Regions from separate parts of the Homo sapiens genome. Here all the other regions are linked to region 3. The links are contacts of gene promoters, found by promoter capture Hi-C in human tissues and cell types (Jung and others, 2019). All regions are on one chromosome and are shown on one strand. Each heading gives the region's core, a stretch centred on a gene start or on the middle of the fragment in contact. The rest is flanking DNA. Distances are from core to core; before and after follow the strand shown.

Region 1 (6,439 bases), core at 3,898-6,397, 420 kb after region 3:
GCCAAAACCCCGTCTCTTTAAATAAAACAAAATAAAACAAGAAACCCAGGCAGGCTTGCCCACTGTATGATCCTGGCAGCAGGCCCAGGCCACGAGCAGCTGGGACCAATAACTGCTTCCCCTTCAGAAGTTCTACATTCCACGAGCTCCCAGCACTGCTACCAGCTCCCCCAGACAGCAGGCATCTGGCCACATGGGGTGTCTGCTAAAAAAGCCACTCTTGGCTGGGGTGTGGTGGTGCACACCTGTAGTCCCAGCTACTCAGGAGGTTGAGGCAGGAGAATCGCTCAAACCCAGGAGGCAGAGGTTTCAGTGAGCTGAGATCACACCATCATTGTACTTCAGCCTGGGTGACACAGCAAGTCTCAAAAAAAAAAAAAAAAAAAATCCTGCCAGTTCCCACCCAGGTGCCGGGCACTGTAGCAGAAGGAACATCAGGCAACGCACCTGCCCTCATGGCCACTCACCTTCTATACAGTCAAACAGATGCAGGAATTAGAGCTCTGTATAATTCTAGATAGGTTGGGGAGATCCATTGCTGGTGAAGGGTCAGGGAAGGCCTTTCGAGGTGACATTTGGGCTGAAGCTTGATAGAGGACATCTCAGGAACACATCCAGGCCGACAGCACAGCCAGTGCACAGGCCTGGGGCAGCCACACGTGATCTGTGTGGAAGCAAGAGGAGCGAAGCCCGGACGGCTGGAATGGAGTGAGCAAGGGGAGGGCAGGAGCTGAGGTGCAAGGAGGAGCAGGGCCTTGTTGCTTCATAACATTTAAGTCCAAGGAATATCCAGAACAGTTTTTTGTTTTTGGGTTTGTTTCTAAATCTCTGCTCTTAATGTTTGGGGGATATCCAGTGTTGCTTATTTCTCACGACTCTGCCTCAGGGAGTCCAGGTGGTCCAGAACTTGAACCACCTGCCTAGGCCTAGGCCCATCTGCCTAGTTCGGCCACCATTGCCCAAAACCTTGCCCAACATCCCTGGGCAAAGCTTGGTGTTCAGCCCCCCAGGCCTCGGACACCCAGGAGACCACCTTGGGCCTCTGTCATGCATGGAATTACCCTTCCTTCCAACCTGTATCATAGTAAAGTCTTCTGCTCCAAGGAGTAAACACCTGGCTTTCAGGGCCCAAGATGGAGGGACGTTGGTTACCCTTGATGTCATCATGCACCTGGCCTCTTCCTCTCCTGCTCTGTTATCCTCTGTGAGCAAGCTTCAGTCTCCAGCTTATGGCCTCATGGTTGCAACACGGCTGCTGTGGCACCCAGCAGCACACCCTCAGGTGGTGTCTCCATTTTGCAATTGTTGGCTTTCCTGCAGCCCTGACTGAAGTGCCTGGCATAAGCCTGGAAGCGCAGGAGCTAGAAGCTGCCCCGATAGTACTGCTATGGGGAGGCTGAGGTTAGATGTGGAGTGCAGGGGGCTCACAGAGGGTGACAGCAGGAGAGGAAGAGGCCAGGTGCACAATGACATGAGGGTCAGAGGCCCAAGTTATTGGTCCCAGCTGCTGGGTGGCCTGGTCCAACCAGGAGCAAAGGCACAGAGCAGGGCACCCTCTAGGGCAGCAGAAAAGATGCAGATCTCTCCCAGGGGTCTCCCTGGGAGACTCATCTGGGGTCAGATGAGTCCCAGGCAACAGGAATGGAGATTGCTTTGATGTGCTTGGACCATCTCTCCTGTCCTGGGCATGTTGCAGCTCAAACAAAGAGGTTCTCTCAATAAGAAAGGCAAGTGGGCTGGTAATCAGAGAGGATCCAGCATGTCTGCCACTTCCCTCTTCCAAATGCCAGGCTCTGTCCTGGAAGGACCATACTTTCTCCATACTTCTTAACCAGGATAAACCACCTGGTTAAGAAGCCACTGCTGGTGGTGCAGCATGTGTGCATGTGGTTTGTGAGCTGACAGGGTCCCAGCAGAAAGATGACAGCATGCTTAGATGGGATATTCCAAAGAGTTTAACCAAGGGATCATTTGCAAAGGAGCAGCAGGGACTGGGAAACCACCGAGGCTGGTGCAGAACCCCAGGACTGGCACCCTGGGAGCTGTTACCACCCCCAGGCCACAAGGCACAAAGAGAAGGAACAAGAACCCAAAAGAGCAAATCCCAGGGAGAGGGTAGTGCTGAGGGAGCTGCAGCCCTGACTCCCACACAGGACGGAGTGAGAATCAACACCCTGACCTTACTCCCCTCCTGCAGGGCACCCCATTGTCCAAATCCTACTGGAAGCCAGAGTGCATAGAAGCCCAGGTGACCCCGCCTCCAGTCAACCTCCTAGGCCATGGAGCAGGGCAGAACAGGACTGAGAGGGTTCCTGGGGAACTGGGTCCCTGGAAGGAAAACAGTTCATCTTTCACTGCAACTCCCCCCCTGCTTCTACCCCCACATCTACCCTTGGCCTCCCCATAGCAGTACCATCAGGACAGCTCCTGGGTCCTGAGCTGCCAGGCCCGTGCCAGGCATCCCAGTCAGGGCTGCAGGAAAGCCAACAATTGCAAAATGGAGACACCACCTGAAACCCCATTTTGCAGATGACCCACCTGAGGCCTGGATGTTTGCCCAGAGGAGGGATTCCTCGGCAGGATGCAGTGGCTCATTCCTGTAATCCCAACACTTTGGGAGGCCAAGGCAGGCAGACGGTTTGAGCTCAGGAGTTCAAAACCAGCCCTAGGCAACATAGCAAGACTCCACCTCTACAAAAAATTTTAAAATTAGCTAGGTGTGGTGGTGCACGCCTGTAGTCCCAGCTACTTGGGAGGTTGATGTGGGAGGATCACTTGAGCCCAGGAGCTTGAGGCTACAGTGAGCTGTGTTCACTCCACTGCACTCCAGCCTAGGTGACAAAGCAAGGCCCTGTCTCAAAAAAAAAAAAAAAAAAAAACCTTCCTAACCAATCCCTGCTTATATGTCTGCCACATGCCAGGCCCCATGCTAAGCATTCTCTCCATGTGAGCTACATGGATCTTCAATACAAACTGGGAAGAGGGAGATTCCTTAGTCTCATTTTCCAGGTGAAGAAACCGAGGCCCAATGAGAAATGACTTGCTCTGGGTCCTGCAGAGAGCAAGCGGAAATGCATGGCCAGCAGACCCTCAGCACTGCCACCCTTGCTTCCCCAAATGAATTGGCACAACTGACTCTCGGGCAATGTAAAGAAATGAAGAAATACTCCTCTCACCAGCAAGCCTTGTACAGATGTCCCCCTCTGACTAGAACACCCTCCCCTTTCATCTGAAACCTTTCAGCGCTTATCCAGGAAGCCATCCCTGTACCCGTAGCCTGGATCAGGAGCCTGTTCGGGTCCCCAGGTACCCCTCTTTTCCCCATCATGGCTGGGTCTCTGCCTCACTTGCCTCTCACTGTCTTGGTCATTCTGGGCTGTCACTGGTGTGCCTCCTTCATGGACTTACGCGATCATTTTCAGTAAGCTAGGTCTGGAGCTTAGAAAATTGTTTAGTTGCCAGGCGCAATGGCTCACGCCTGTAATCCCAGCACTTTGGGAGGTTGAGGCAGGTGGATCACTCGAGGTCAGGAGTTTGAGACCAGCCTGCCCAACATGGTGAAACCCTATCTCTACTAAAAATACAAAAATTAGCCGGGTGTGGTGGTGCGCACCTGTAGTCCCAGCTACTTGGGGGACTGAGGCAGCAGAATCGCTTGAACCCAGGAGACGGAGGCTGCAGTGTGTGGAGATCGTACCACTGCACTCCAGCCTGGGCAACAGAGTGAGAATCTGTCTCAAAAAACAAAACAAAACAAAACAAAAAAAATAAAAACAGGTTGGGCGCGGTGGCTCACGCCTGTAATCCCAGCACTTTGGGAGGCTGAGCCGGGCGGATCACCTGCATTTAGGAGTTTGAGACCAGCCTGGCCAACATGGTGAAACCCCATCTCTACAAAAAACACAAAAAATCAGCTGGGTGCAGTGGTGTGCCCCTGTAATCCCAGCTACTTGGAAGGCTGAGGCAGGAGACTCACTTGAACCCAGGAGGCGGAGGTCATAGAGGAGCCAAGATCACGCCATTGCACTCCAGCCTGGGCAACGAGCAAAACTCCGCCTCAAAAAAAAAAAATTAAAAAACAGAGCTTGGATTGCTTCTTAGTCTTCTGGCTAAGAATCAAGTGTAAAACAGCTTGGCCAGTGTGCCGGGGTAGGGTCCTGGGAGCCCCTGGCTGTGTCAAGAGACCCCCTTTGGGCCAGGTGCGGTGGCTCATGCCTGTAATCCCAGCACTTTGGGAGGCCAAGGCAGGCGGATCACTTGACGTCAGGAGTTCAAGACTAGCCTGGCCAACATGGTGAAACTCTGTCTCTACCAAAAATACAAAAATTAGCCCGGTGTGGTGGTGCATGCCTGTAGTCCCAGCTACTCAGGAGGCTGAGGCAGGAGAATCGTTTGAACCCGGGAGGTGGAGGTTCCAGTGAGCCAAGATGGTGCCACTGCACTCCAGCCTGGGCAACAAGAGTGAAACTCCGTCTCAAAAAAAGAAAAAAAAATAGGAGACCCCCTTTTACTTTCCAGACTGTGGGAGGGAGGAAGAGTGTTGTCCCAGGCAGTAACTAGGGGCTAGATTATTAACAAACTAGTATTTTAGTGCCTGCTACACCTGAACAGTGCTTCTGGCTGAATGTTAGCCCTGGGAATCTGAAGATCAGAGAGGTGGGGCATCCTACCTGAGGATGCACAGCCTGGATCCTCATTTTGCCCTGATTTATCCAGATCTGCTGTCCTCCCTGCACCCTACAGAGCAGGGCAATCACAGCAGGGGGCCCCTTCAGTGTCCTCAGACAGCTGCTGTGATTTGAATAACCAGGCAGGCTGCTGGATGTCCCCTGGTGACTGATTTGCCTGGCAAACAGACCCTCAACCCCTGGGAGACAGTCCCCCTGGGGCCTTGTTTCTTCTTCCTATCCTCAAAAGCTCCCCAGGCCCATCTCCCCTTGCCTGGCTCTGCTTGGTGGTCCTAGTGCTTGTCCACCCCTGGAGGCTGGATGGTTCCCTCCAAAACCTGGGAGAAGATGGGCAGGTCCCCAGGCAGGGGTAACCTGAGCCAGCTTAGTCCACTCCCAGGGCCAGCCAGGAAATTTGCATGAAGAGAATGAGGTTCCTCAGAGGCTTCCCCTCCTTTCCCACCAGGGATAGTCATCCTGGGGCTGAGGTCTGACAGCAGGTGGAAGCAGCCCCTGTGTGTGGAGAGCCTTCCGGAGGGCATGCCCCGCGCCTTCCTGGTCAGGAGTCGGCGTCCACAGCCCCCCAACTGGGGCCATCTGCCTGACCAGCTCCGGGGAGATGCCTATATCCCAGGTGGGCCCCTCACTGTGCCTGGAGGTAAGGGGCAGGAGAGACGCAGTGTCACCATCTGGCTTTTCTCCTCAGACTGCAGCAGCCTGGGGGGGCCACCGGCACAACAGTCGTCCAGTGTCAGGGATCCGTGGACAGCGGTGAGTGTGTAACTGGCTAGCAAAGCCAGCTGTTTCGCTCCTGCCTGCTCTCAGCCTTAATGAAGCTGACAGCCCCTTGCTCCCCCGACCCATCTGCACACGCCCTCCAGCCTCGGGACCTGTCCGCCCCTACTTCTCTGTGTTGGGAATGCCTCTCCTTTCCTAGTAGTGAGCTCTCTACTGTTAGGTCTCACCCCAGGCACCAGGGCCGGCAGCCACAGGGATCTCTTCCAGCGGGGCACAAGATTCATCCCCACATGTGGATGATCCGCTTTATGTCAGAACATGGGACAAGGCAACAGGAGTGCGATGGGAGATAAGGGCTTTTTCAGCTGTGCATGCATTGGAGGAAGGAAAGCGCCAGCCGGAATGTAATATATTCATGAAAGCAAGGCACTGTTCTAGGCATGGGCTGTTATATTCAGCGGGAATAAGACAAAAATCCACAATTTTATGGAGCTTATATTCTGGTTGGGGCTGCATGTATAGACAATAAAATTAGTCAGCCTGTAATTCCAGCACTTTGGGAGGCCGAGGCGGGTGAATCACTTGAGGTCATGAGTTCGAGACCAGGCTGGCCAACATGTTGAAACCTTGTCTCTACTAAAATTACAAACATTAGCCAGACATGGTGGCACGTGCCTGTAATCCCAGCTCCTCAGGAGGCTGAGGCAGGAGAATCAGTTGAACCTAGGAGGCAGGGCAGAGGATGCAGTGAGCCGAGTCTGCGCCACTGCACTCCAGCCTGGGAAACAGATCTAGACTCCATCCCCCCTCAAAAAAAACAATAAAATTAGAAAAATAGACCGGGCATAGTGGCTCATGCCTGTAATCCCAGCACTTTGTGAGGCCAAGGTGGGTGGATTGCTTGAGGTCAGGAATTCAAGACCAGCCTGGCCAACATGGTGAAACCCCATCTCTACAAAAAATAAAAAAATTAACTGGGCATGTGGCGCATGCCTACAATCGTGTAATCGTGGGGAGGCTGAGGCACTAGAATC
Region 2 (6,613 bases), core at 236-2,735, 440 kb after region 3:
ACTTCACCCAGCCACCACTTAAGTTTTTTTTTTAATAATCAGTATTGCTGCAGATATCATTTAATTTTGATAGGGGGCCTAGTGGTATGGAGCAACCCATGTTCCCATTTTACAGATGAGAAAATCGCTGCTCAGGAATATCAAGCCACTCTTTTGGGGTTGTGCAGTTATTACAGGGCACAGCCAGGATTCAACTCAAGCCTAGCCAGCCTGCAGGGTAGGGGATAAGAGCCAGCCAGCCTGCCTGGGGGCCAGATTTAGCTCCCCCCGATGAGTCCTGAAAAAGTACTGGACTCCCGTGGCTCATGCCTGTAATCCTAGCACTTTGGCAGGCCGAGGCAGGTGGATCACCTAAGATCAGGAGTTTGAGACCAGCCTGGCCAACATGGTGAAACCCCGTCTCTACTAAAAATACAAAAATTAGCTGGGTGTGGTGGTGCATGCCTGTAATCCCAGCTACTCGGGAGGCTGAGGCAGGAGAATCGCTTGAACCTGGGAGGCAGAGACTGCAGTGAGCTGAGATGGCGCCACTGCACCCCAGCCTGGGCAACAGAGCAAGACGCTGTCTCAAAACAAAAAAAAAAAAAAAGAAAAGAAAAGAAAAGAAACCAGGCTATGTAAAAATATTATTGTAAAAAATTAAATTAAATCAAAAAAAGGCCGGTAGCCCATACCTGTAATCCCAGTACCTCACAGTACTTTGGGAGGCTGAGGCAGGAGGACGGCTTGAGGCCCGGAGTTCAAGAGCAGCCTGGGCAACATAGCGAGACCTCCGTCTCTATTATGTAAAAACAATAATATTTTTTAAGTAAATAAAGAAACCAGGCCGTGGCCAAAGGAATCTTCCTGTGTCTGGGGCCTTCTTTAGAGGCTAGCATACTGAGGACACTCTTTGGGCCAGTCCAGGAAGGAATGATTCTGGTGGCCCCTGACTGGGGCGGGGGCGTGGTAAGGTTCGCCTGGGAGGCGGCGCAGGCGCTGCCTGCGGTTTGACTGCCATCCGGGCTGCTGCAGGCACTGGGAAAGGCAATCCAGCCTCAATCCTCGCCACAGACACGGGCGACTGTCCCCCAGCGTGTGAGTCAAACCATACTCCAGGCCTCCAGGAGGTGTTTGTCGCGACAACACCTGCAGAGGGCCCGTGCGGAGTCCCTTAGTGAGCGGACCGAAAACCGCCACCCTGGAAGGATATTGGCATGCCCTAGGGTGAAAATTCACACTACGACACTCGGGGGGTGGGTCCCCTCCGAGTTCTCGTCCGCGGGTGCCTCCACCCAGACCTGAGGGGTGTCGGGAAGACCCCCGCCTACCGAGTCAGGGCGGGATTAAGACCTCCGGCGCTGGAAACGCGTAGGGCGGGGCCCAGACCTGGATCCAGCTAGCCGGGCGGTGTGGGGTGCGCATGCGCAATGTCCGCTTCGGCTCTAGGACCGCGCGGGCGACAGCAGGGCCGCGGTGCAGTGTCCGACCCGAGAGTTGCGGCCTGAGTCACCGGCCCCGCCCTCCGGAGCCGGACGCTGCGGGAGGCCCGGGAGCGGCAGTGGAACCGACTCCCAGAACTCCGGACGTGTGCGGCGGTAAGCGCCCGGCCCGTACCCCCTCCGCACCCCGCAACTCCGACTTTGGCGGCCCCCAGACCCGGCGAAACCGTGAAGTCTCGGCCTCAGGAGCCCCCCAGATCCATGGTCTCAGATTCGAACCCTCAGACCTGTTCGATCTCCTTTTATGCCGTCCCGGGGACCCTTCTCCACCCTCTGTCTCATGATCCAAAATACAGGCCCATAGGTTTCAGAGATACCCTGTGAATTCTTCCTTGGGGTGTCCTGAACCGCGATCGTAGATCTGTGCCCCCAGTTCCAGCGGGGAACCCCATTGTCCGGGAACCCAGAGCTCACAGCCACGATCTTAGACCCGAGCCCACAGAGCCAGAGGTGACACTGGAATCCTGCCGCTGGGAATACCTAAATTCTCAAGCCCACATTTGGGATTTCCTAAACCCCGCCCTGGGGCCCTTTAGGCCGTGGATGTTTGCTCCGCGCCCATGACCTGCCAAGGACCTCTACATTCAGGCTGGGCTCTGGATCTCACATTCTAGCGCCCAGACATGTCGGGAACGCCTTACGCCAACTTGGGGTCCCCACCAAGAGAACCCCCACCAGATCTGCACCCTCCCCTTCACGCGTGCACCCAGTCCAGGCTCCCTCAAGCCCCACGGGTGCCTTTTAGACCTGAGGAGGTTGCAAACCTGATCCCCCATACCTGCCCCACCCATCCGCGGACAACCCGCCCTCGCAAACTCAGACCCCCACCCGGAGGCTTCAGATTCCTCCCAGGTCCAGCTGCCGGAAATGCGTGTTTGAAGGGAGGGTGTGGGCTCAGGGGCGAAGCACCCACTGGTCCCCTTTTTTCCCCCCAGCAGTGAGTCGCAGCCATGTTCCTGGTTAACTCGTTCTTGAAGGGCGGCGGCGGCGGCGGCGGGGGAGGCGGGGGCCTGGGTGGGGGCCTGGGAAATGTGCTTGGAGGCCTGATCAGCGGGGCCGGGGGCGGCGGCGGCGGCGGCGGCGGCGGCGGCGGTGGTGGAGGCGGCGGTGGCGGTGGAACGGCCATGCGCATCCTAGGCGGAGTCATCAGCGCCATCAGGTAAGGCGGAGACTATCAGAGGGGCGGGGCCTGGGAATGGGAGGAGCCTCAGTGAGGCGTGGTCTGGGAGGGGCGTGGTCTAAAAATAGAATAGGATTAACCTGGAGGCTAACCTGGGTACATGAATTAGGCCGGGGAGGCCTGGTTTGAGAGTTCTGCTGTAAGGGGGTGGACCCCAGTGAGGCGGATATCAGTCATTGGGGGCGGTGCTTGATATGGGAGTAGTCTGATTGTGTGGGACCAGGACAATGTGGTCCTGAGGGGACTGATGTGGAGTTTTGGCGGGTGGGGCTTATGGGTCTGGGCTCAGCCTGCATTGGCTAACCTGGAGATGAACGTTAAAGGTGCGGAGCCAATGCGTCTGAGTGACATTTTACGGAAGGGGCTTGACTTATGAGTGTGGTCAGAGGTTTTAGGTGGGTTAATGAGGAGGTGAGCCCAGGAGGAAGCAAGACCTAATGGGGTAGGGTAAATGGCCCAGAATGGGCTGGGCTTGCTGGGAACTGGCTGGATTAATGGAGAAAAATGCCCTGGTAGGGATAGGGCAGGTTGGCTTAATTAGCCACGGCCACTTAGCAGTGATCCCTTGAAGGGGCGGGGACCAATGGCTGGGGTAGGATGTTGGGAAGACGGGCATTTAGGAAGCGGGCCATGGAGTAGGGTCTTGGGCAGATGGCACCTGAGGAGGATAAGGCCTTGGGAAGCTGGGGCAGAGCCTCTATGAAGTGAGCCCTCCAAGGGGCGGGGTCTTTTGATTCTACGTGGGATTTTTTAGGTTTAGGGTGGCCAAGATGACTGAAATCTGCCACTGGGTAGGTGTGCCTGGCAGGAGGGGAGCCTCCCAGGGGACCGGTCTCTGGGTTTCCTCGAGGGTGGGGTTGGCCTGAGGAAGGGAGAAGAGGGGCACGACCAGGGCAGTGTGGATTGGGACAGATGAGGACAAGAACAAATGAAAGGCACAGCAACCAAGTAAGGAAGATAACGGCTGGGGTCTGGAGCGTTGGGGCTGATGGTTCTGTAGTGCTGCCCGTTGGAGGCCCCGCCCCTGGCACTAACCCCTCCCCCTTATCTCTTCGCAGCGAGGCGGCTGCGCAGTACAACCCGGAGCCCCCGGTAAGCCCCCTCTGCAACCAGACCCCCTTCTCCTGCCAAGGCCTCTTCGAGGTCCCATCCCTGTTCCTGTAGAGAAGCCCCACCTTCCTCCCCTTCTTGTGAAATTCCTCTGCCAGTTCCTCCCATGCCGTGTCTGCAGCTTCGCCATGGGTCTTAGCCATGCCCCACATACGTGCACCCCATTCACTACCACCCCTCATTCTTTTCCTCATCAAGCTGCCCAGCCCACTCTGACTTCCCCACCCAGGGTACCTGGGTTTGGGGAGCCGTCCTGGCCGGGTTCCCCTCCCCCTGCTCTGAGCTCTCCTCCCTTTGCAGCCCCCACGCACACATTACTCCAACATTGAGGCCAACGAGAGTGAGGAGGTCCGGCAGTTCCGGAGACTCTTTGCCCAGCTGGCTGGAGATGTAAGTAACCTGGGGTCCCTGGCCCCGTCCTAACCGTTCCATCCCTTCCCTTGTGGCTGCCCTTGCACACACACCCTTGACCATGACAATCCCAGTGTTCCCATTCTCCATGACATTCTCAGACCCCTTTCAGTCACCCCTGACCTGCCCCTAACTTCCGCCCGCAGGACATGGAGGTCAGCGCCACAGAACTCATGAACATTCTCAATAAGGTTGTGACACGACGTAAGTGACCGGGGTTAAGGAATAGGGTAGATTCAGAGGCAGAGGGGTCAGAGAGGATTTGACCTCTGGCCTCTGACTTTCAACCTGTTACCCACAGACCCTGATCTGAAGACTGATGGTTTTGGCATTGACACATGTCGCAGCATGGTGGCCGTGATGGATGTATCCTTGGGGGCAGTGTGGGAGAGGCCCTGGGTGGACAGAGAGTTTTTTGAGAGTATGTTTGGGAAGCCAACATGTAGCTTTCATATCCACAGATGTGGAAATGCATTCATCAGAACACAGTCACCTGCAGACATGTGGCGGTAAATCATAACAATGCCAGCTGTCACAGCTGGCACTTTAATTATATAAAGTGACCGAACCGTCATAACCACCCTGTTGGACAGGCACAATTATTATATTCCATTTTACAGAAGAGGAAACTGAGGCTCAGTTTCCTGAAAGAAGCAGTCATTTGTCTCAAGTTATAGATAAAGGTCAGGCATGGTGGCTCATGCCTGTAATCCCAACACTTTGGGAGGCTAAGGTGGGCAGATCACCTGAGGTCAGGAGTTTGAGACCAGCCTGGCCAACATGGTGAAACCCCATCTCTATTAAAAATACAAAAATTGGCCAGGCACGGTGGCTCACACCTGTAATCCCAGCACTTTGGGAGGCCGAGGCGGGCGGATCACGAGATCAGGAGATTGAGACCATCCTGGCTAACACAGTGAAACCCTGTCTCTACCAAAAAAAAAAAAAAAATTAGCCGGGCGTAGTGGCGGGCGCCTGTAGTCCCAGCTATTCGGGAGGCTGAAGCAGGAGAATGGCGTGAACCCGAGAGGAGGAGCTTGCAGTGAGCCGAGATCGCGCCACTGCACTCCAGCCTGGGCGACAGAGCCAGACTCTGTCTCAAAAAATAAAATAAAAATAAAAATAAAAATAGGCCGGGCGCCGTGGCTCACGCCTGTAATCCCAGCACTTTGGGAGGCCGAGGCGGGCGGATCACGAGGTCAGGAGATCGAGACCATCCTGGCTAACACGGTGAAACCCTGTCTCTACTAAAAATACAAAAAAATTAGCCGGGTGCAGTGGTGAGCGCCTGTAGTCCCAGCTACTCGGGAGGCTGAGGCAGGAGAATGGCGTGAACCTGGGAGGCGGAGCTTTGCAGTGAGCCGAGATCGCGCCACTGCACTCCAGCCTAGGCGACAGAGAGAGACTCCGTCTCAAAAAAAAAAAAAAAGAAAAAAAAAGAAAAATAACAATAACAAAAATTAGCTGGGCGTGGTGGTGCACGCCTGTAGTCCCAGCTACTCGGGAGTCCCAGCTACTCAAGCAGGAGAATTGCTTGAACCCGGGAGGCGGAGGTTGCAGTGAGCAGAGGTTTCGTCACTGCACTCCAGTCTGTGGACTCAGGTCTTTTGGGCTTGAGAACCCACGTTTATAACAGCCACATGCGCATATACACACACACACACCTAAGAGCACACCCACATACGTGAAGGTGTATGAGGCAGTGTGCACAGGGACACACGTGTTATCTGTACATGGGCCAGCCATTAGCTGATCTTGGATACATGCATATTTTTATTTATTTTTGTTTTAAAAAATATTTTATAGAGAAAAGCTTTCACTATATTGACCTGGCAAGTCTCAAACTCCAGACCTTAAGCAATCCTTCCGCCTTGGCCTCCCAAAGTGTTGGGATTACAAGCTTGAGACACTGCGCCTGGCCTCATGCACATTTAACACATAGGGCAAACAGACACATACATAATATACATGTCATGTAATCACAGACATATTGCATAGAGCAAAGCAATCCCAACTCTACCTCTTAACCAGGTTATTGAACCGCTCTGTGCCTCAGTTTCTCTCTCTGTAAAATGGGTGAGTGATAATGGTGATACCGAATCGGAACTACATCCAAAAGGTTTAGCACAGTGTATAGCGCATAGTATGTGGTCTGTACACATTAGCTCTTAACTATGATCTTGGGTAGAGTTTTCAGCTTTGAATGTTTTCTTCTCTGGAAATAGTCCTGGTAGAACTGGTGTCCCAAGGATTTAGTGAGAAAGTGATGTTCCTGAGTGGACATCAGGTGGATCCTGAGTTCAAGCGATCCACCTGCCTTGGCTTCCCAAAGTGCTGGGATTACAGGCATGAACCACCATGCCTGGTCACACACTTGTTTTTCACATATCCTAACATTTTTATGAAATTGAGTTACTGTCAAGAATTTTCT
Region 3 (6,945 bases), core at 4,204-6,703:
CTACCCAGGAGCTGAGGCACGAAAATCCCTTGAACCCGGGAGGCGGAGGTTGCAGTGAGCTGACATCATTCCACTGGACTCCAGCCTGGCCGACAGAGCGAGACTGTCTCAAAAAAAAAAAAAAAAAAAAAAACCCTGCAAAAGAATTTAATGGCATGAAAAAAATGCTTGGGAAATTGTGACATGAGAAAAACAGATTACAATGTAGCATGCCAAGTATGATTCCTTCCCTGATAAAAATATAAATATGTGCATGTTTGCATTTTTTTTAAAAGAAAGTCTTCCAAAGGTTATTGAGGAAGAGGACACATTTGCAGGGGATCTTTACTTCATTCCTTGGACATTTTGGTATTTTGCAAATATTTTATGATGACTATTGCCTTTGTCCTCTAACAAAAAATCAAGAAATATATCTTAGTTAAAATGTCCCTGCTGGACATAAAATGTACATTGAGAAGAGAATTATCCTACTAAATATTTTCAAACTTTATCTGAGCAGTTAAGGTGTCCGGAATTGGTGGGTTATTGGTCTCACTGACTTCAAGAATGAAGCCGCGGACCCTCGCGGTGAGTGTTACAGCTCTTAAGGTGGCGTGTTTGGAGTTTGTTCCTTCCGATGTTCGGATGTGTCCGGAGTTTCTTCCTTCTGGTGGGTTCCTGGTCTCGCCGGCTCAGGCAGGAGTGAAGCTGCAGACCTTCGCGGTGAGTGTTACTGCTCATGAAGGCAGTATGCACCCAAAGAGTGAGCAGCAGCAGGATTTATAGCAAAGAGCAAAAGAACAAAGCTACCACAGCACGGAAGGGAACCCCAGCGGGTTGCCGCGGCTGACTCGGGCAACCTTCTTTTATTCTCTTATCTGGCCCCACCCACATCCTGCTGATTGGTCCATTTTACAGAGAGCCGAGTGGTCTGTTTTGACAGGGTGCTGATTGGTGCGTTTACAATCCCTGAGCTAGACACAAAGGTTCTCCATGTCCCCACTAGATTAGCTAGATACAGAGTGTCCACACAAAGGTTCTCCAAGTCCCCACCAGAGTAGCTGGATACAGAGTGTCGATTGGTGCATTCACAAACCCTGAGCTAGACACAGGATGCTGATTGGTGTGTTTACAAACCTTGAGCTAGATACAGAGTGCCGATTGGTGTATTTACAATCCCTGAGCTAGACATAAAGGTTCTCCACCTCCCCACCAGACTCAGGAGCCCAGCTGGCTTCACCCAGTGGATCCCGCACTGGGGCTGCAGGTGGAGCTGCCTGCCAGTCCCACGCCGTGCGCCCGCACTCCTCAGCCCTTGGGTGGTCGATGGGACTAGGTGCCGTGGAGCAGGGGCGGCGCTCGTCGGGGAGGCTCAGGCCGCACAGGAGCCCACGGGGTACGGGGAGAGGGGAGGCTCAGGCATGGCGGTCTGCAGGTCCCAAGCCCTGCCCCGCGGGAAGGCAGCTAAGGCCCGGCGAGAAATTGAGCACAGCAGCTGCTGGCCCAGGTGCTAAGCCCCTCACTGCCCGGGGCCGGCGGGGCCGGCCGGCCGCTCTGAGCGCGGGGTCCACCGGGCCCACGCCCACCCGGAACTCGGCGCTGGCCCGCAAGCACCGCGCGCAGCCCCGGTTCCCGCCTGCGCCTCTCCCTCCACACCTCCCCGCAAGCTGAGGGAGCCGGCTCCGGCCTTGGCCAGCCCAGAAAGGGGCTTCCACAGTGCAGCAGCGGGCTGAAGGTTCCTCAAGTGCTGCCAAAGTGGGAGCCCAGGCAAAGGAGGCGCCGAGAGCGAGCGAGGGCTGTGAGGACTGCCAGCACGCTGTCACCTCTCAGTAAGACAGGTCAGGGCTGGGCACAGTGGCTCACGCCTGTAATCCCAGCATTTTGGGAGCTGAGGCAGGAGGATTGCTTGAGGCCAGGATTTCCAGACCAGCCTGGCCAACATAGTGAGACCTCATCTCTCCAAAAAATTTAAAAATTAGCTGGCCATAGTGGTGCGCACTTGTAGTAACCGCTAGTCGGGAGGCTGAGGTGGGAAGATCGCTTGAACCCAGGAGGTAGGGGCTGTAGTGAGCTGTGATGGTGCCACTGCATTCCAGCCTGGGCAATAGCAAGACCCCGTCTCAATAATAATAATAATAGGCCAGGACTTGCTAGATGGGAGGCCGGGGTTTGACCTGACCTCTGACCTCTGGGCAGTCAGGTAGGTAGGCCGCCATCTCTGACCCACATCTGCCACTTGGCTTTCGGGCTCCATCCTACCATATACCTGCAGAGTGTGGCTCAGTCAGACCGGCAGCAGCGTGGCCTCACCCAGGCGGGCCTGCCTGCAGGACAGGTTTGTCCGCCCCAGCCCCCAAACTCAGAGGCCGGCTCCTGTGGGTAAGAGGGGAGCAAAGAGGTCAGGGCTATGTCAGGGCCCGGACCCCTTGAGGGACAGGCAGCCATTTGATGGCTGTTCCCCCCACACCCCAGGTGACTGCATCCCTCCTCAGCCTCTAACCCTCCACGGCTCTCCAGCGCCCTCCTCACCTCGCACTGAGGGCCCGTGTGGCTTGGCCCCTTGCCACCTCTCCAGGTATCTCTTTCTCTCTCTTGCTCCACTGAGCCAAGCTCTCTCTCTCACCATCTGAGATCACAGAATGGAAATAAGAAACTGTGTTATATAGCAATCAAGCCAGGCACATGCCTCTGACTACATCCACTTTTGCTTACACTCCTTCCATGAGGGCAAGTTGGTTCTTTTTTTTTTTTTTTAACTAAAACGTAAAAACACACACCCCTGCCCTTTCCTCAGGTGTCCCACGCCCACCAATTCCTCCTCTCTGGTCCCCGCGTCCTTGGCTGGTGTTAGAAAAATGGCTACAAGCTTCCTGGGAATCAGATAATAAAGCTTACAGGAACTCTTCCCAGATTTAAAAGAGCTTAATAAATAAATAAATAAAGCTTACCTTCTAGAGGGGAAAATAGATAAAACCAATAAGAAAAACACATGTTAGAGGCTAATAAGTGCTAAGGAGAAAAATAAAAGAATGAAAGACAAAACAAAAACCTAGCCGGGCGGGGGGGCGCGGTGGCTTACGCCTGTAATCCCAGCACTTTAGGAGGCCAAGGCGGGAGGAACGCTTGAGGAGTTCGAGACCAGCCTAGGCTACATAGTGAGACCCTGTCTCTACAAAACAATAAAAAAATTTTTAAAAATCGCTGGCCATGGTGGCAAGCACCTGCATCACAGCTGCTCAGGAAGCTTAGGCAGGAGGATCACTTGAGTATGGCAGTCGTCGCTGAAGTGAGCCAAGATGGCACCACTGACTCTGTCAGCCCAGATAACAGTCTCAAAAAAAAAAAAAAAAAAAAGATGACTGGGCATGGTGGTTCACACTTGTAATCCCAGCACTTTGGGAGGCTGAGGCAGGCAGATCACCTGAGGTCAGGAGTTCGAGACCAGCCTGGCTAACATGGCGAAACCCTGTTTCTACTAAAAATACAAAAATTAGCTAGATGTGGTGGCATGTGCCTGTAATCCAAGCTACTCAGGAGGCTGAGATAGAAGAATCACTTGAACCTGGGAGGTGGATGTTGTAGTGAGCCAAGATCGTGCCACTGCACTCCAGCCTGGGTGGCAGAGCAAGACTCCATCTCAAAAAACAAAAACAAAACAAAACAAAGCAAAAAACGGTGAGAGGGCCTGGTGCCCCCTCTGGAATGTTTTTCATTGTCTAGGTTTGACACTGTGCTGTGCCATCACGTGTGGGGCTGGGGAAAGTGCAGATTCCGGGGCACACGCCTGCCCTTGGAGCAGGGATGGAGTCAGCTCCATCTATAGGGTCTGGTCTGGGAGGAGGGAGAGGGTGCTTGCCCAGAGCAGGCTCAGACCCTAAGCCTGAGCCTAGGGAAGGGTGAGCCGACCCTGGAGGCAAATGGACCACAATCCCCCCTCCCCATCAACCTTCACCAGCGATTCCGGGATAAATGACACAGACAGCACTGAGAATTCCATGGTAGTCGTTATTATTACTGTTGTTTTTATTAATAGCAGGGGCCCCATCACTTACCTGTGGGTTATCAATTTATTACCTCTCAGTTCCATTTGTCATCTGGTGCCAGGTTAGGCTTTGTCAATAGAGGGCGCTGGAGAGCCACTGAGGAGCCAGGGCCCCTCTGCCTCACTCCAGGGCTTTGTGTTCTTCCTACTGCGCTGTGACCAGCAGGTGGCTGCTATGCTCCACATTATAGGGAGTGACCTCCACTGCCACCCTCTCCTCCTTCTCCCTCCTCCTCCTCCCTCCTCCTCCCTCCTCCTTCTCCCTCCTCCTCTTCCTTCCTCCTCCTCCTCCCTCTTCCTCTTCCTCCCTCCTCTTTTCTTTCATCCCTCTTCCTTTCTCCTCCTTCTTCCTTCTCCTTCCTTCACCCTCCTCCTCTTCCCTCCTCCTTTTTTCTCTTTCTCCTCCTCTTTCCTCCTCCGCCTTCTTCCTCCTCCTCCTCCTTCTTCCTACCCCTTCTCCTCCCCCTTCCCCTTTCTTTTAAAAGACGGGGTCTCAGCCAGGCACAGTGACTCACACCTGTAATCCCACCTGTAATCCCTCACTTTGGGAGGCCAAGACAGGAGGATCACTTGAGCCCAGGAGTTCGAGGCTGCAGTGAGCTATGGTAGCACCACTGGACTCCAGCCTGGGCAATAGGGGGAGACTTTGTCTGAGAGAGAGAGAGAGAGAAAATGAGAATCGCACCGTGTCGCCCAGGCTGGAGTACAGTGGCAGGACCATAGCTCTCCAGTGCCTTCTTGAGTCTAGCTAGGGACTTGTCACTTAACCCAACAGATCTATTTAAAACATGAAGTAGAATCATTGTTTCTCACAGAATCAGCTGCCTTCTCAGATCCTCTACAAATGGAAACAGAATCATGCAAAACAGGGAAGGTAAAGGGACAAGAAAATGGTCTTTTTGAAGAGCTGCTCCCAGCCCTGCTGGACAAAATGACCAAAATAGGATCCCTGGTATTAAAGTTCCTCTCATAAAAATCCATTCAGAAAATTGAGGACACTTTGGGAGGCTGAGATGTGAGGATTGTTTGAGGCCAGGAGCCTGGGCAACAGAACAAGGCCCTGTCTCAAAAAAAAAAAAAAGAAAAGATACATATATATATATCTGTACCCAGAGTCAAGACAAGCAATATTTGTTGTCTAAAAACAACTCTGGTTCAGGGTACATCAGTTAACTTTTTTTTTTTTTTTTTTTTGAGATGGAGTCTCGCTCTGTGTCCCAGGCTGGAGTGCAATGGTGCGATCTCAGCTCACTGCAAGCTCCACCTCCTGGGTTCACGCAATTCTCCTGCCTCAGCCTCCCAAGTAGCTGGGACTACAGGCACCCGCCACCACGCCCAGCTAATTTTTTGTGTTTTTAGTAGAGACGGGGTTTCAGCGTGTTAGCCAGGATGGTCTTGATCTCCTGACCTCGTGATCCGCCAACCTCGGCCTCCCAAAGTGTTCAGATTACAGGCATGAGCCCCCACACCCAGCCTTTTTTTTTTTGAGACAAGAGTCTTGCTCTGTTGCCCAGTCTGGAGTGCAGTGGTGCAATCTCAGCTTACTACAACCTCCACCTCCTGGGCTCAAGTGATTTTCTGCCTCAGCTTCCCAAGTAGCTGGGATTACAGGCGTGCGCCACCACACCTGGCTAATTTTTGTACTTTTTGTAGAGACAGGGTTTCACCATGATGGACAGGCTGGTCTCGAGCTCCTGGCCTCAAGTGATTCTCCCACCTCAGCCTCCCAAAGTGCTGGGATTATAGGTGTAAGCCACCACGCCCAGCCCAAGACAGATACTTTAAGAAAGTAAACTGGCCAGGACAGTGGCTCACACCTGTAATCCCAGCACTTTGGGAGGCCAAAGCAGGCAAATCACTTGAGGTCAGGAGTTTGAGAGCAGCCTGGCCAACATGGTGAAACCCGGCCTTCACTAAAAATACAAAACTTAGATAGGCGTGGTGGCAGGCACCTCTAAATCCAGCTACTTGGAAGGCCAAAACAGCATCATTTGAACCCAGGAGATGGAGGTTGTAGCGAGCCAAGATCCTGCCACTGCACTGCAGCCTGGGTGACAAAACAGGGCTCTGTCTCAAAAATAAAATAAAATAAAGAAAAAGAAAATAAAGAAGGGAACTTAGGTTAAGTGAGGTCATAAGGGTGGGGCCCTGATCCCTGATGTCCTTATAGAAAGAGACACCAGGAGTGCACACACACGGAGGGAAGGCCATATGAGGTCACAGTGAAAAGGTGGCCTTCTACAAACCAAGGACAAATGCCTCAGGACAAACCAACCCTGCTGGCACCTTGACTTTGGACTTCCAGTCTCCAGAACTGTGAGAAATAAATGTCTGTTGTTTAAGCCCCCTAGTCTGTGATATTTTGTTACACAGCCCTAGCAGACCATTACATTCAGTCTCTTCTTTGCTTCCCACTGTGTCCTTTCTACCAAGCACCATGCCTAGCACATAGTAAGTACCCCCAAAAAGATGCACAAACATCATCGCCTCCTGTGGGAAGCTGTCCCTCACCCTTCTCCACTCCTTCTCCCCTTAGCTTAAGTGCCTCTTCTCAGCTTCAGTTCCTACACTTTCCACTTGGCTCTTGAAGAATATGTTTTGAGGTCTAATTCCTCTCTAGCAGGTGAAATGTTTGAAGGCAGGGGCTGGGTCTTCCCCAGGGCTCAGCACCAATGGCATGCACCATCAGAATTTTTTGTTTTGTTTTTTTGAGATGGAGTTTCGCTCTTGTCACCCAGGCTGGAGTGCAGTGACCCAATCTCAGCTCACTACAACCTCTGCCTCCTAGGTTCAAGCGATTCTTGTGCCTCAGCCTCCTGAGTAGCTGGGATTACAGGCGCCCGCCACCATGCCCGGCTAATTTTTGTATTTTTAGTAGAGATGGGGTTTTGCCATGCTGGCCAGGCTGGCCTCCAACTCCTGAC
Region 4 (6,216 bases), core at 1-2,500, 350 kb before region 3:
GCCTCAGGCACAAGAAAATGTGGACTATGTGATCCTCAAACATTGACACTGGATGGGCTGCAGCAGAGGCACTGGGGGCAGCGGGGGCCAGGGAAGTCCCCGAGTTTCCCCAGACACCGCCACATGGCTTCCTCCTGCGCGCATGTGCGCACACACACACACACACGCACACACACACACACACACTCACTGCGGAGAACCTTGTGCCTGGCTCAGAGCCAGTCTTTTTGGTGAGGGTAACCCCAAACCTCCAAAACTCCTGCCCCTGTTCTCTTCCACTCTCCTTGCTACCCAGAAATCCATCTAAATACCTGCCCTGACATGCACACCTCCCCCTGCCCCCACCACGGCCACTGGCCATCTCCACCCCCAGCTGCTTGTGTCCCTCCTGGGATCTGCTCGTCATCATTTTTCCTTCCCTTCTCCATCTCTCTGGCCCTCTACCCCTGATCTGACATCCCCACTCACGAATATTATGCCCAGTTTCTGCCTCTGAGGGAAAGCCCAGAAAAGGACAGAAACGAAGTAGAAAGGGGCCCAGTCCTGGCCTGGCTTCTCCTTTGGAAGTGAGGCATTGCACGGGGAGACGTACGTATCAGCGGCCCCTTGACTCTGGGGACTCCGGGTTTGAGATGGACACACTGGTGTGGATTAACCTGCCAGGGAGACAGAGCTCACAATAAAAATGGCTCAGATGCCACTTCAAAGAACCAGTGAACTCTTTTCAGTCTGTGGAGTCAGAGTGGGGATGAGGAGAGGGGAAAGTCTTCATGGGGCCTGGGGGGAAGGAAATGGAGTCACAGTGGTTTACTGATCAAACCAGCAGATTAGAGAGTCTGGTGTCTTGTTAGGAAAAGCATACTGGCTTTGCAGACAGACAAACATGAGAACTTGAATCTTGATTCTTCGGCTTAACTAGCCCGGTGATCTTGGCAGGGCTCGCCAGCTTGCCTGAGTCTCGGCTTCTCCATCTGTAAAGTGGAGAGGGAAAGGCCACTGCCTACCACGCAGGTGGCCCACGATAGGAAGTGAGGCATCGTCTTCTATATGCTGGAGCCACATTGAGACCCAGCACAGAAGCCGAAAGTCCCCCAGAAAACCAACCTCCATCCTTTATTTGCATTTTTCGAAGAATGTGAAAAGGGGAAGCCGATTCAAAACAGCTCTTCCCAAAAGTGACGCTACCCAATTCTTGCACAACCCATAGCTGCCAGAGAAAGTCTTGAAGACCAGCCACCCTGAGAAACCTCACAGCTTTTCTGTCATTCGAGGTCCTCTGCACCCGTTCTCTAATTCTGTTCACTGATTCAGACTTTCCAGTTAGGTGCCCCAGCTCCCCTCTCCGCTTCTCGGGTTTGATCTTTCTCCACCCATTCACCTGCTTCTGCAAAGGGGCTAAAGCCCATTCTCCTTAGAGGGCAGGGGTGTAATTATCTGATCATCAGGGAGATTGGCTCCTGGCACGTGGCAGGTGTCCCCAAACTGCCACCTTCCTCTCCCACCTTCCTTTCCCTCCCATCTCTGCTCAGTACCCGGACGGTAACTCTAGGAATTATGGTTCAGGGAGGCCTTGATCGCCCCATCAATCCACTTTGTCCCTGGTTTGATTCTTGTGAGCACCATTAACTTTTCTGGAGGAAGGTGAGGCTTTAAGAACTGTTTAAAGCCCAGGCGTGGTGGATCACGCCTGTAATCACAGCACTCTGGGAGGCCAAGGTGGGCAGATCACCTGAGGTCAGGAGTTCAAGACCAGCCTAGCCAACATGGTAAAATCCTGTCTCTACCAAAAATACAAAAATTAGCTGAGCGTGGTGATTCACACCTGTAATCTCAGCTACTTGGGAGGCTGAGGCAGGAGAGTCGCTTGAACCTGGGAGGCGGAGGTAGCGGTGAGCCGAGATCACGCCACTGCACTCCAGCCTATGCAACAGAGTGAGACTCCGCCTCAAAACAACAACAACAAAAACTGTTTAAATGAGACAGGAGGGTGTTGGGGTGTCTGTGCCCAAAATGGGGTCTGGTGTCATTCAACTCTTTCTTCATTCATTCTGCACACAGATACTGAGCACCTGGAAATGCACCCAGTACAGAGCCAGTTGTTAGGACACCAAAAAGATAAGGCGTAGGACCAACCTTGGGGATCTCTAGTCGAGAGCCGCCAAGGGTTTTTAAGGCAAGATACCCTGGAGGGAGCTGAGGCAGTCCTAAGCCTGAAGGGCCTGGCTTAAGCTCCCTGGCAACCATCGAGCATCTTCCCCTTCCCACCCTGTCCCTCAGCACAGCTGCTGACATAAACCTACTACATGGCTGATTGACCATGAGATATGGCCATCAATAGACATTGCTGAGGCGTGAAGAGCAGGTGAAGAGCAGGTGGCCAGGAAGCTAGGGGGCCAGGACTCCAGACGCAGGCCGCCCTCCACAACCCCAGCTCTCACAGTCCTCCCAGGGTCCAGACAATGGATCGTGCATTTAGGTTCCCAAACACCTGCTGTGCAACGTGTAGTAGACAAAGCAGACCAAAGCCTTTGCCCTCAGGAGGCCGGCATTCTAGCTCAGGAGCCAGCCAAGACGATGTCGCACTGAAGAAAGACAACAAAAGTGAGATTCACAGGAGGGATGAGTGTGGCTGAGGCACCCGGGAAGGCCCTCGGAGAAGGTGACCTTGGGCAAAGATCCAGACGCCAGGTGGGTGGGGCCAAAGCAGAGAAGATCTGGAAAACCCAATGGCTCCCCAGGGCTTCGCTCTTGCTGCAGGAGGGGAAACCACACTGCTGTGGATTCTTCCTCCATTCTGTCCATTTCTCAGTTCCCAACAACACACTGAACAGTAGGAGGCCAGTTCTCCGCTCACAGCGGGCGCTGCACCCCAGGTGCTGCTCTCGAGAAAAAGGCGAGCATGGACCAATTTAGTGGCTCCGAGGTATGAAAAGCAGTGAGATGGTGTCTTTGAGGGAGTTAGTGATAGGCTGAGACCCCCTTGCTGTCCCCCCTGAAGCCTGGTGACCAGAGCTGCCAGGAGGCCACACAGAGAGAGGTTTATGATGGGGGACCTGGAATTCGGAAGGGGCAGAGTGGTCAGGTGACCCATACACGCCTGAGAAAACTGATGTGGAGAGCTGTGTTGTCATTCTGAGGCAGGAAATAGAGACAGACTGACAGACAGACAGAAAGACACGGGCACATTGAGAGACAGAGACAGAATCACAGAGCAGAGCTGGCTTCTCACCAGCAGGCGTGGGCACACCTGAGAGAGCATCCAGAGAGGTTAGAAATCTTCCTTAGGTCCTCCTGGGAGGCTCAGGTGACCCCAGTGGGAAACATGAAAGGCTGGGAGGACTTCCAGGGCTGAGAGAAGGAAGCTACGCAGCCGGCCGGTGCCACATTCCCTGTGCCTTGGGGAGTGTCCCCCAGTGTCCCCAGCCATGCACCCTGGGGGGAGTCGGCTTGGACATCTGTGCCACCCCTTGACAGGCAGAGTGGGGGCCACAACCTGGGCCCTCCAGTGCTGGTCAGCAGAGGCTGCCCCCGCCCCTTGCCTTCCTCCTCCCGCTCCTTCCTCCAGCCCTGGGAAGGTCGGAAGCCACCACCATGGGGCTAGTGCGGAAGCAGAGGGAGAACAGAGGGGCCCTCCTCGCAAAAACTAAAACAAGCCCACAGCCTGTGCAGAACCGCACCCGGGTGTGATCACTCCTTACCCCACACACCCACTGCCACTTGGAGATGGCTTCATGGCTGCAGTCACAGGGCACCCTGTGTTGTCAGGGGTGAGCCAGTGAGGCCCGGGACCTGCCCAGGGGTGCATCAAGGGTGGAGAAGACCTGGCCCCAGCGCAGGTGTGAACAGGCAGGAGGGCTGGGGAGGGAATAGCGCTGGGTTGTGGCCGAGCCCCCAAGCCCTGCTCTTGAGAGGCACTGGCTACACACTCGGCCCCTACCCAGACAGGACCCCAATTCCTCCCTGGCCCCTCTGTGTTCCTGCATCTTCCCAGCCCCTCACCTCCTCTGGCGTGGCCTCACCTCCAGCCGGGATGCCCCATTAGCTGCTCACCCAAGCTGCTAGAACCTCAGGCTAATGGCCCTGTCACCCGCCCTCCTCCCCTTCCGGCTCACTGCCCATCCCGGGCATCCTCCATCAGCCCGCTGAGGGGACTGCTGAGCCTCAGAGACATCTGGCAGCACCAGGAGGTGGGTCCCTCTCTCTGTGGCTCCTCTCTTCACCTGACTGTTCCCCAGACCCCCAGACCCCCTGCCCAGGTGGCCCCTGAGAACTGCTAAGCTCAACCGTGACATGGATGGGGCCTGGCTGACCCTTGGGCTCTCCCTGGGGGACCCCCTTTTCCTGTCCCTGGCCACACCCTCACCTTATCCACACCCTTCTCCTCCCTGCTGCCCCGCCGGCTTTCCAATGTGGGTGGGGGGTGGGGGCAGCTCCTGCCTTGCCAGGGAACCAGGGAGGGCAGTGGGCTCAGGAGTCAAACTCCCATTCCCAGGGAAGGCTCAGGCTGTGGGCCCAGCCCTGTTCTGAATTCTCTCCACCCCTCCTCCCCACAGAGTCTCAGAAATCGAGAAGCTTTCTTCCTCTGGGACCTGTGCGCCACATCCTATCTCCTGTGACGCTGCAGGAGCTTCCCTGGTTTTAAGAGGTGACATGGTGGAGAGAAAGCACAGGACTGGGGGCCACAGGTCCTGGCTTCTCATCCAGGCTCCGCTGCTCCCTGACTGCTGCCTTTCTCTGTGGGCCTCGTTTCCTCCCTGATCCCACCAGGTGAATTGTAATTCTCCACACAGGGCTGGAACCCGCGAGTGATCCCAGGAGCCCCTCCTCTCCGGGGCCCCAAGATCTGAGGACAGGGAGCCAGGTTGCACACAGGAGCCGTGCAGGCCAGGACGGCGGCCCCATGGACCTGCCCCCGCAGCTCTCCTTCGGCCTCTATGTGGCCGCCTTTGCGCTGGGCTTCCCGCTCAACGTCCTGGCCATCCGAGGCGCGACGGCCCACGCCCGGCTCCGTCTCACCCCTAGCCTGGTCTACGCCCTGAACCTGGGCTGCTCCGACCTGCTGCTGACAGTCTCTCTGCCCCTGAAGGCGGTGGAGGCGCTAGCCTCCGGGGCCTGGCCTCTGCCGGCCTCGCTGTGCCCCGTCTTCGCGGTGGCCCACTTCTTCCCACTCTATGCCGGCGGGGGCTTCCTGGCCGCCCTGAGTGCAGGCCGCTACCTGGGAGCAGCCTTCCCCTTGGGCTACCAAGCCTTCCGGAGGCCGTGCTATTCCTGGGGGGTGTGCGCGGCCATCTGGGCCCTCGTCCTGTGTCACCTGGGTCTGGTCTTTGGGTTGGAGGCTCCAGGAGGCTGGCTGGACCACAGCAACACCTCCCTGGGCATCAACACACCGGTCAACGGCTCTCCGGTCTGCCTGGAGGCCTGGGACCCGGCCTCTGCCGGCCCGGCCCGCTTCAGCCTCTCTCTCCTGCTCTTTTTTCTGCCCTTGGCCATCACAGCCTTCTGCTACGTGGGCTGCCTCCGGGCACTGGCCCGCTCCGGCCTGACGCACAGGCGGAAGCTGCGGGCCGCCTGGGTGGCCGGCGGGGCCCTCCTCACGCTGCTGCTCTGCGTAGGACCCTACAACGCCTCCAACGTGGCCAGCTTCCTGTACCCCAATCTAGGAGGCTCCTGGCGGAAGCTGGGGCTCATCACGGGTGCCTGGAGTGTGGTGCTTAATCCGCTGGTGACCGGTTACTTGGGAAGGGGTCCTGGCCTGAAGACAGTGTGTGCGGCAAGAACGCAAGGGGGCAAGTCCCAGAAGTAACGCCACTGCTCGGGGGAAGGAGCATGGGGCAGGAGGGCCCGGCTGCTTCTCCAGGCCCCTGCGGGGGGCTGCTTCGGAGGAACTGCAGGGCAGCCTGGCCCGGAGGCCTCCCTGGAGCCACTCAAGCAGAGAGCGGCGCCTGCTGAGGGCAGCACCCCAGTCAAGAGAGGAGCACCGAGCCAGAGCACGGTGGCAGGGGGAGGTAAGTTTGCCCCTGCACGTGTCGAGGAAGTTTGTCCCTTCCTCGCCTATCTTTCTCTCCCCTCTGCACGTCCTCACCTGCCTGTCTTCCGTGGGCCGCGAGCAGAGGCCTTGTACTTACGGGAAGGAGGAGGCAGTCTGTTTCTGACCCACAGGAACTGCCACTCCGGTGATGCACTTGAGGACAGCTACTCTGAAATCAGTTCCCAGGA

Evidence for each region. The method cuts DNA at HindIII sites, captures the fragments that hold promoters and counts their contacts. A contact is called where the count stands out against the background at its distance.
Region 1: a contact is called between the fragment with the promoter of OVOL3 here and a fragment that was not itself captured in region 3, in 1 of the 25 tissues and cell types used here (pancreas).
Region 2: a contact is called between the fragment with the promoter of CAPNS1 here and a fragment that was not itself captured in region 3, in 1 of the 25 tissues and cell types used here (pancreas).
Region 4: a contact is called between the fragment with the promoter of FFAR1 here and a fragment that was not itself captured in region 3, in 1 of the 25 tissues and cell types used here (lymphoblastoid cells).

The regions. Positions count from the first base shown.
Region 1 is chr19:36,105,996-36,112,434 of GRCh38, forward strand. It overlaps OVOL3 (ovo like zinc finger 3), which reads left to right and starts at 5,148. Exons shown (of 4, transcript NM_001302757.2): 1 at 5,148-5,301; 2 at 5,374-5,438. The coding sequence starts at 5,208. It also overlaps a transcript of WDR62 not described here. RefSeq lists enhancers at 4,747-5,377, 5,378-6,007. The HindIII fragment of the contact is 22,945 bases long and covers 789-6,439 here.
Region 2 is chr19:36,138,581-36,145,193 of GRCh38, forward strand. It overlaps CAPNS1 (calpain small subunit 1), which reads left to right and starts at 1,486. Exons shown (of 11, transcript NM_001749.4): 1 at 1,486-1,577; 2 at 2,417-2,640; 3 at 3,720-3,753; 4 at 4,072-4,161; 5 at 4,329-4,386; 6 at 4,484-4,548. The coding sequence starts at 2,432. It overlaps LOC105372385 (a long non-coding RNA gene), which reads right to left and starts at 1,402. Exons shown (of 3, transcript XR_935954.3): 1 at 1,311-1,402. RefSeq lists enhancers at 1,753-1,802, 1,893-1,952. The HindIII fragment of the contact is 11,049 bases long and covers 1-6,613 here.
Region 3 is chr19:35,689,816-35,696,760 of GRCh38, forward strand. No RefSeq gene overlaps it. Among named protein-coding and RNA genes, the nearest start is that of ZBTB32, 11 kb to the right of the region's middle. The HindIII fragment of the contact is 5,192 bases long and covers 2,858-6,945 here.
Region 4 is chr19:35,346,652-35,352,867 of GRCh38, forward strand. It overlaps FFAR1 (free fatty acid receptor 1), which reads left to right and starts at 1,251. Exons shown (of 2, transcript NM_005303.3): 1 at 1,251-4,187; 2 at 4,554-6,216. The coding sequence starts at 4,901. The coding sequence ends at 5,803. CD22 (CD22 molecule) reads left to right here. Exons shown (of 14, transcript NM_001771.4): 14 at 1-710. The coding sequence ends at 46. RefSeq lists enhancers at 323-422, 1,023-1,102, 3,516-3,565, 3,606-3,745, 5,535-6,216 and a silencer at 2,381-2,581. The HindIII fragment of the contact is 9,647 bases long and covers 1-6,216 here.